2 separate regions of the Homo sapiens genome follow, and region 1 is linked to region 2. The links are contacts of gene promoters, found by promoter capture Hi-C in human tissues and cell types (Jung and others, 2019). All regions are on one chromosome and are shown on one strand. Each heading gives the region's core, a stretch centred on a gene start or on the middle of the fragment in contact. The rest is flanking DNA. Distances are from core to core; before and after follow the strand shown.

What was found. The method cuts DNA at HindIII sites, captures the fragments that hold promoters and counts their contacts. A contact is called where the count stands out against the background at its distance.
Region 1: a contact is called between the fragment with the promoter of SLC26A6 here and a fragment that was not itself captured in region 2, in 1 of the 25 tissues and cell types used here (dorsolateral prefrontal cortex).

Annotation. Positions count from the first base shown.
Region 1 is chr3:48,633,558-48,638,375 of GRCh38, reverse strand. SLC26A6 (solute carrier family 26 member 6) reads left to right here and starts at 2,915. Exons shown (of 21, transcript NM_022911.3): 1 at 2,915-3,005; 2 at 4,741-4,818. The coding sequence starts at 2,983. It overlaps CELSR3 (cadherin EGF LAG seven-pass G-type receptor 3), which reads left to right. Exons shown (of 35, transcript NM_001407.3): 35 at 144-1,913. The coding sequence ends at 171. MIR6824 (microRNA 6824) reads left to right here and starts at 4,678; the gene lies at 4,678-4,740. RefSeq lists silencers at 2,707-2,986, 3,377-3,476. The HindIII fragment of the contact is 9,287 bases long and covers 1-3,877 here.
Region 2 is chr3:48,951,911-48,956,439 of GRCh38, reverse strand. All of the region lies in intron 3 of ARIH2 (ariadne RBR E3 ubiquitin protein ligase 2), which reads right to left. Among named protein-coding and RNA genes, the nearest start is that of ARIH2OS, 35 kb to the right of the region's middle. The HindIII fragment of the contact is 8,935 bases long and covers 1-4,529 here.

The DNA.
Region 1 (4,818 bases), core at 1,666-4,165, 320 kb after region 2:
GGCATGAAGGGGCTGGGGGCTAAGAGGCGAGAGCAGTGGTGGAGGCAAGGGAAGCAGCCAGGCCAAATGTGGTGGGGGAGTCCAGAGCCGCCTGACTCGGAGTCCTCTGGGCATCAACCTCTGATTTCCTCATGTGCCTCCAGAGTTCCCAGAAGTGAGGGTCACTCCTGAGGGGATGACGGCGTGGACGAGGAACAGCTGAGGGCGACAGAGGATCTAGGCTAACAGGAGAGACTCCAGGAGTGGGGGCAGATCCCAAGGCAGCCTCCTGCTCCCCAGTGGTGGGTGCCCCAGCTCTACCTGGTGTGGCAGGGCTGAGGCTCCATGTGCATCTGTGAGCATGCGTGTGACAGGTGCAGAGACGGGGGACTGGAGGGAGACTTTTATACGTTTTGTACCTTTGTAACCAGAGAGATGCTTATGTTATTTTTCAGCTTTTCTGTCTCCTGGGGGGTTTGAGGCTGGGCTGGGAGGGGGAGGGAGATAGAGGGAGAGATGCAGTTTGACCCCATTTGGGTCCTGAGCAAACCCTATGCTCATCTCTCTCTCCTTCCTGGGGTGGACTCAGATGGGTGGGACACATGCCTTCCTCCCCCTATTCCACCCCCAAGTTGATCTGAGTATCGTCAGGGGCCCAAAGTACAGAATTGTTCTTTGCTTTTTATTGAATGCTCCAAAGGCCAAACTTCTGGGGCTGGGGGTTGGTCTTGGAAACAGGGGTCCTCTGACTTCCTCATGGGGGCTTGCTCATACCGCCCCTCCTGGTGGATGTGTGTGTTTATTATGTGGAGTCCCTGCCACTTACTGCCTTATGACCTAGGACTGATGCTGTGGGGTGCTGGTGGAGCAGCTGATGTCGTGTTTACAGAGCAAGGCTTCCCTGTCTCCCACGGGGAGGGGCTCGGGCCTCTAGTCAGACATTCCTGCAGAGGGTCGGTGGAGGGGTCATTCACCTGCCCCTGCAGCAAGCAAAAGTTGTCTGTGGTGCCATTTGATTCCCTGACACTGCCCCCTGCTTGAATTGATTCCGAAGGGTAGGGTGGGAAGGTGAGCAAAGGGAGCAGAAACAAGGGAATTCAAGACCCAGAATGTAGGTGCCACTGCCTCCTATGTTTACAGGATCCTCCGTGGCCCTAGGCACCTGGGCTGCAGGAAGTGACTCCGTTCCACTCCTCCTTTATTCCCTTAAAAAGGGAAAAATGACTGTTACGACCCTGTTCACAAAACTCTTACTTTTGCTATTTTGTCTGCTGTCCAGAACTGAAGACTTTAAAATTTTGTTACTGTTTACAAGTCCAGATTCAAAAAATGTTTTTACTTTGTTTACAACTCAAAACTTTGAGTTTTACACTTTGTTTACAGTAGATAATTTTTTTTCCTTTGTTTCCAAGTGAAAGGTAGGGAAAGTGGGAGAGGGACTTGGAGGACCCACCTGTGAGGACCCTGACCTGGCCATCTTGAGGGGTTTTCTAACCCCCAGGTCTCCCAGGCCGAAGGTCAGCCTTGAGTCCCGTTTAACAGCAGATCCAGAAGACCTTGAGAGTAGGCGTCCTCTAACCACGGGGGAGAGTGGCTGTGCAGGGCTGGGGGGTGGTCTGTGCAGACACCTCCTCACCCACCACCCCATGCATACTCTTGGGAAGCAGCTTCCTGGGAGATTAGAAATTCTACTTCCCTGACTGGAGCTAAATCCCACCAGCCAGGACCCAAACTCTCCTTACCGAGAAGGACCCCAGCTCTTGAAGGGCTGAGTGGCCTGCTGGGGGTGGGAGGGTGTCTTTACTATGTCCTAGGTTTCGTAGATGCCCCTCTCTGGGGTTCCCCTCCTCCAGCCCAGCGGCCCTCTTTCCTGTCTGTGTAAATTGTTCCGTGAAGCCGCGCTCTGTTTTGGGAATAAACTTCTATAGAAAACAGTTGTTGCCTTTTCCTGTTGGGGGCTGGGGAGGTAGGATGGAAGCTGTGAATGATTCAAGCCAGACTGACCTTTGGGAGGAATCTGAGCCCCTCCCAAGAATATCCAGCTATTTTTAGCCCATTTCATGGCAGATCTCTTTCACCTTGAAATCTGGCCCCTCACTTTGTAATTGGGGCCTGATGTTGGAGCACAGGTGCTGAAAATAAGGTGCTAAGGAAAACCTCCCCGCTGGTCAAGGCAACGGCAACAGGACTTCCTAATTCTTCAGGGTCTGCAGCCCTGACCCGGCATTTTTTGCCCTCACCTGCGGTGAAACCAACCTGAGGAACTGCTCTTGCAGTTCCTGCCTTGCCCACCCAACAGCACTGACGCCCACCCAACAGCACTGACCCCCACCATTCTCCTCGGCGGCCCGCGCAGTAACCTTCTGGGAGCTACGTCCGGGCTGTGCTTAGTGCAGCGGAGGGGATCCTCCAACCATTTCTGGCCTGGGTGGCCAGAGTTAAAGGGGAGGACTTGGGGACCGTTGGCTCCGGGTCTCAAAGAGATGCGTAGTCGCAGAAAGCCTGCGGGTGGCGCTCTCAGCTGAAGGCAAGAGAGGCCCCACAGACCTGGATCCCCTACGAGTTAAGGCTGGGGTCACCGGCCAGTGGAGTTTCCTTTTCCCACTCCGTGAGCACCTTCCGCCGAGCCAGGACCTGGGATCAGCTCCAACCTACTCAGGGCCTGGGGGCGCGACTGCGGCCAGCCCGGCGCGGGTGCTTAGTTCCAGTTCTGCAGTCCCATCCAGCTCCGGGCAGAGGGCCGGGCGAGCAGCGAGAGGCCTCATAGGCCAGGTCGCCGGGGAGGAAGCGGTTAAATCCTCCTTCTCCAGTCTCTCCCCGCCCGGCGCGCGCCACTTAGGCCCCGCCCCAGCGCGCTGATTGGCCCAAGCCTCCCCGTCCTGCCCCGGGATTAGCCCCCGGGAGAGCGCAGCTGGCCTCACCCGGTCCCGGCGCCGCCTTCCGGAGCGTAGCGGCCTCTAGCTCGAGCAGCAGGAGCAGCCCGCACCGGACAACTTGCGAGCCATGGGGCTGGCGGATGCGTCGGGGTGAGTTCAGCGCACATTCCCGGTGGCCCCGCGCGAGCGCCTCGCTGGAGCAGGCATTCTCCGCTTGCGACGCCTCGCTGGAGCAGGCATTCTCCGCTTGCGACGCCTCGGTTTACCTCTGCTGATTTTCTGCAGGCGGCTGCCCCTCTGCAGCAAGGGGTGGGGGCGGGAGCCGGCGCGACCCCAGTCCCTTGGGCTGTGCGGAAAGCCGCTGGTGTGACGCCCGAGGGCCATCCCGGGCCACAGGGAGGCAGCTGCGTGCGGAGGAGCCCGGCCAGGAGATGTGCCGGCGGGGGTGCGTGGGGCACGGGAGTCCCTGGCAGCGGCCCGTGGACTAGCTGCTTTCAGCTGAGTCCCGAGTCCACCCAGCTCCACTGATCCCGGAGTGAGCGCTCCGGCCTTTCTGGCCCCAGTTGCCTTCCTACAGGGAGGGGCCAATGATCAAGGCTCCGCCCTCCAAACGCGGGTCCCAAGTTGTCGGGGGAGGGAGCCCTTTAAGAAGACCTGAGTGACTCACGTAGGAAAGGAGAGGGGGCTCTACGATCTCCTTGAGATAGCGGTCCCAAGAGTCTCTGAGGATCTTCCTTGCACCCACTCCACACTCCTCCAACAGTACAGCCAGGTTAGAGGCGCTTCCCAGGTGAGTTCCTGTCCCTCAAATGGGATCCTCTCCCCAGGTCAGGGCTTTTCCTAGATCAGAACTTTCCTGACTGGTGAAAGCTTCCCCAACAGGCTAGAGTTTTCCCCCAGGTAAGATCCTTCTGTGAGATCTATTCCCAGGTGACAGCTTTTCCCCATTCCACGTGGGAGCCTCGCCCGAGGTCAGAGCTTTCTCTATGGGAGAGTACCCCCCAGGTGAGAACCCTCTCCCTCTAGGTCTTTTCTTCCCATGTGAGATCTTTCTCTGACTTCAAGTAGGTGCCTCTGGGCAGAGGGAAGATTCCCCCTGTATCAGAACTTGCCAGGCTGATAAAGATTCCCTGGTAGGTCAGAGATCCCTCTAGGTGAGATTCCCCTTGAAAGCTTCTATTCCCAGGTGAGCTCTTTCCCCCACTTCAAGTGGGTACTTCCCTTTCCATGTGGGAGCCTCTCCCTCTAGGTGAGAGATTGCCACTCCAAGAGCAAGCTCCTTCTCAGGTGAGAGCCAGTCCTTGGCTTCCCCATAACAGGCCTGAGCCGTCTACAACCTGGACCCTGGGGCTGGAGGCCCAGGGGCAAGCTTGGCTCCAACACTTTCCTTCCCTTAGAGGGGAGGGTCTCATCTGAGGCCTGAGGCTTGGGAAAGGAGTTGCTTGAGGAGCTGGACCCCTGGTTTGCTGGACCCCTTCCCTGAGTGTGCTCTCAGCCAGCAGTGGGCTCCCGGGGCAGCTGGAGGAGGACCTGGGGACTGGAGAGGGACTGGGTGGGGGAGGGAGCAGCCTGGGACCTGGACTGGTAGAACACTCAGCACTGGGCTGCCACATCTCGGCTGGAGGTATAGCTAGTGCTCATCCTGCAGTCCCTACTTGGGGGACTTTGTCCTAGAAAGAGGCTTTCTCACCAGCCAAAGTTCAGGTACTGCCCCTGTCTGAGTTTGGACATGTGGCCCACAGATGCCAGCTGGGGGCTGGAATACTGTACCTTGATCTTAGGGCCTGGAAAAATCAGGTAGGTAACTCTCTGGTCCTAGGTGGAGGTGTAGGGGAGGTTGGGCCAGGGATGCCTTCACTGTGTCTCTCTGGTCTTGCCACCCCAGACCGAGGGACACACAGGCACTGCTGTCTGCAACACAAGCAATGGACCTGCGGAGGCGAGACTACCACATGGAACGGCC
Region 2 (4,529 bases), core at 581-3,080:
GTGCCGGGCGCAGTGGCTCACGTCTGTAACCCCAGCACTTTGGGAGGCAGAGGCAGGCGGATCACCTGAGGTCAGGAGTTCGAGACCAGCCTGGCCAACACGGTGAAACCCCGTCTCTACTAAAAATATAAAAATTAGCTGGGTGTTGTGGCGGGCGCCTGTAATCCCAGGTATTCGGGAGGCTGAGGCAGTAGAATTGCTTGAACCCAGGAGATGGAGGTTGCAGTGAGCCGACATGGTACCACTGCACTCCAGCCTCGGTGACAGAGTGAGACTCCGTCTCAAAAAAAAAAAAAGTAAAGGAGATAATTACACATATTAGGTTGATAGTACACAGAAGATTGGAGACTCTCTCTCTCAAAAATCTACTACAAACCTGATGAGATTCTGAGACCACTAATTAAGGGAAAATGTAGTGTCACTGCACCTCATCCAGTAATGGACACCAGGAAGGATCTACAGGAAAGCCAGATTCCCCAGAGTCCTCTGAGCAAAAGCAGCACAGAGATGGAGAAAAACAGTGAGAAAATGATACTCTAGAATAATATATTCTAAAAGGTAGTCTCAGCAAGGAGGCTACCTTCTCCCTGATTTGGGTCACAAGAGAGAACTGACTGAACCCCCATCTCAACTCCCCAGCAGTTTTCCAGAGGAAGCAGTGGCCACCTTGAGCCATCTTGGCCTCCTGGCAGGAGGGCCAAAACAAATCTTCTAAACAATATTAAGCCAGATTAAAGGTAAAAATCTGTCTGAGTACAAACAGCTGAGCTTTCTAAGGAACGAACTAGTATTCACACCATTAGTCTTTAATGCTTGAAAGAGCTCAACAATCCATTTAGAATCTATCACAGTCAACACTTTCATAACTGAGTCCTTCACCCCCTGTCCCCTTGTTACCCTTTATAATTTGTTCAATTGTGAAGAGAAAACCTTTCAGTAGAATCAAGAAGAGCTCTTGCTGGGCTGTTGTAATGAAGGAGCTAACAACCTGTTGGTAGTTAGGATTAAGTATTATCAAGACAACTTATAAAGAAAAGGCCAAATCTTTTCCAAAAGAAAAATGGATCCAGGGTAGTAAACAACCAATGTAAGCCAAAAAAAAAAAAAGACTAATGACTTAGAAGGAACACATGTGACCAATGTGGTGTTCAGAAGAAACTTGCAGTTCTATTAGATCAACATGTAACCAGAGGATTAAAAGTCCTATTTATTTATGAATGCTTTTTCTTTTTCGTTTCTGTTGAGATGGAGTGTCATTCTGTCGCCCAGGCTAGAGTACAGTGGCGCGACGCTGGCTCACTGCAACCTCTGCTTCTCGGGTTCAAGTGATTCTCCTGCCTCAGCCTCCCAAGTAGCTGGGATTACAGGCACTCAACACCACGCCCAGCTATTTTTGGTATTTTTACTAGAGATGGGATTTCACCATGTTGGCCAGGCTGGTCTCGAACTCCTGACCTCAAGTGATCATCCTGCCTCGGCCTCCCAAAGTGTGGGGATTATGGGCATGAGCCACCACACCCGGCACTATGAATGCTTTTTCTATTTCTAGAAACATTAACTGAGGAAAAAACTAGAAATTAAAAACTAGAAAGTTTCTTGTCCAAAAGGAGTCTCAAGATAATTACTGAGTAATCTGAGTCTCTAATCAGAGATAAAAAAGGTATCTATTGTTCCCTCCATATCAAGGGCCAAAAAGGGTACCATTCATTAGGTTACTGTTTCCAGCAAACCCATTCTCCAATTCATTTCCACTATTCCCCAGAGGAAATCTCATCCCTGTTTAAAGAGCAAACCCTAAGATGGTGGAATCTCTTTGACAGTCATTTTGTACATTCACAAAACCATGAGTAAAGAATACTTACAGGCTGGGTGTGGTGGCTCAAGCCTGTAATCTCAGCACTTTGGGATGCCAAGGTGGCAGGATTACTTGAATTCAGAAGTTTGAGACCAGCCTGGGCAAATAGTGAGATCCTATACGTAGAAAAAAACTTTTTTTTTTTTTTGAGACAGAGTCTCACTCTGTTGCTCCGACTGGAGTGCAGTAGTGCGATCCTGGCTCACTGCAAGCTCTGCCTCCCGGGTTCACGCCATTCTCCTGCCTCAGCCTCCTGAGTAGCTGGGACTACAGGTGCCCACCACGATGCCTTAGTAGAGACGGGGGTTTCACAGTGTTAGCCAGGATGGTCTCGATCTCCTGACCTTGTGATCCGCCTGCCTCGGCCTCCCAAAGTGCTCGGATTACAGGCGTGAGCCACCAAGCCCGGCCTTTTCTTTTTTTTGCGACAAAGTCTCGCTCCTGTCCCCACGCTGGAATGCAATGGCGCGATCTTGGTTCACTGCAACCTCCGCCTCCCAGGTTCAAGCGATTCTCCTGTCTCGGCCTCCCAAGTAGCGGTGATTACAGGCACCTGCCACCACTCCCGGCTAATTTTTGTATTTTAGTAGAGAGTGTTTCACCATGTTGGCCAGGCTGGTCTCAAACTCCAGACCTCAGGTGATCCACCCGCTTCGGCCTCCCAAAGTGCTGGGATTACAGGTGTGAGCCACCACGCCCAGCCAAAACATTTTTTTTTTAATTAGCTGGGCATGGTGGCATGTGCCTGTAGTCCCAGCTACTCAGGAGGCTAAGGTAGGAGGATCGCTTGAGCCCAGGAGGTAGAGGCTGCAGTGAGCCATGATCACGCCACTACGCTCCAGCCGGGGTGACTCAGCAAGACACTGTTTCAAGAAAATGAATAATGGCTGGGCGTGGTGGCTCACACCTGTAATCCCAGCACTTTGGGAGGCCAGGTGGGCGGATCATGAGATCAGGAGATCGAGACCATCCTGGCTGACACGGTGAAACCCCGTCTCTACTAAAAATACAAATAATTAGCCGGGCGTTGTGAGGCACCTGTAGTTCCAGCTACTCAGGAGGCTGAGGCAGGAGAATGGCGTGAACCCGGGAGGCGGAGCTTGCAGTGAGCCGAGGTCGCACCACTGCCCTCCAGCCTGGGAGACAGAGCGAGACTCCGTCTAAAATAAAAAATAAAAAAAAGAAAATGAATAATCATGTTTAATAACTATAATACTTTTCAAAGCTTATGGGGTCTAACTGCCAAAATCATAAATTAAAAATTCACAGATTATTCCTGATTTTAATTCAGTTTGGCTCATAATTTGATAAGATGTTGATTTCAATTGATGAATTTCAATCTACTCAGAATTGCTGGCCAGGCGCGGTGGCTTACACCTGTAATGCCAGCACTTTGGGAGGCCGAGGCGGGCAGGTCACCTGAGGTCGGGAGTTTGAGATCAGCCTGGCCAACATAGTGAAACCCTGTCTCTACTAAAAATATAAAAATTAGCCGGGCATAGTGGTGGGCACCTGTAATCCCAGCTACTTGGGAAGCTGAAGTATGAGAATCGGTTGAACTCGAGAAGCAGAGGTTGCAGTGAGCCAAGATCGCGCCACTGCACTCTAGCTTGGGTGACAAGAACGAGACTGCGTTTAAAAAAAAAAAAATTGCTGACAGTAGAAATACTAAGATATTCTTTCTTTATGCACATATACCAGGCAATATAAACTCCCTTGTTGCCAAATTCAAACATTTCTCATACCTTATCTTGCTGACAGAAATCAGACACTTAACTTCCTTCTGCCTTAATGACCCCCTCTTGATCTCTATGATGTCTTTTGCAGCACCTGTTCAGGTACTCTGTGCTCTTCCTCTTGTATCCCCATCTTGCCAGTGGGGGGCACCACATTCCCACTCCTCTCAAGGTAGGACTGTTGGCCTTTTCCTCCACGTCTCACTCTTCCTTAACCACTTTACCCTCTCCCATCATCACCACTCCAGTGTCCAATCTCTAGTTCTTCCTCTCCTCAGCACTCCCATCAGAAGGGCCTCACTCACATGGAAAGGCATCTTAATGTATATCCCTTCCACTCCATCATCCTCAGGATGAGCTTCCTGACACCCTTATGCAACAGTAATAATAACACAATTCTTGCAGATCCCTTAACTCTTGCCAGGATCAGTTCCTACCTTGTTTAAAACCCATCACTGCTCTCCAGTATTGACAGGACAAACTTTATATGCCTTAGTAGAAGAGAGTCTTCAGGACCCATCACCTAATTCCTCCCCACAGCAATTCACTGAATGATTCCAGAACCCCCATATGTTTCTCTTAACTGTCAGCTACCAATAATGCCCTTCTTTGTAGCATACATTTAGAAATTAAAGAACATACTTCTATAGAACCCCTGTGTCAAAGCAGGAATCAAAAGAGAAATTAGAAAATGTTTTGAACTGAATAACAAAAATACTACATAATTTGTGAGATGCAGCTAATATAATGCCTACACAAAAATTTAAAACTATAAATGTATATATTAAAAAAGGTCCAAAAATCAATGACATAAAGATCTAACCTAAGACGCTAGAAAAATTTAGTCACTGCCGTGTATTACAGCTAAAAAAGGGAAGCTAGAAAAAGATGACTAAGTTAAAACGAAGTAAAAAGAAGAAAATAGTAACAATTAAAAA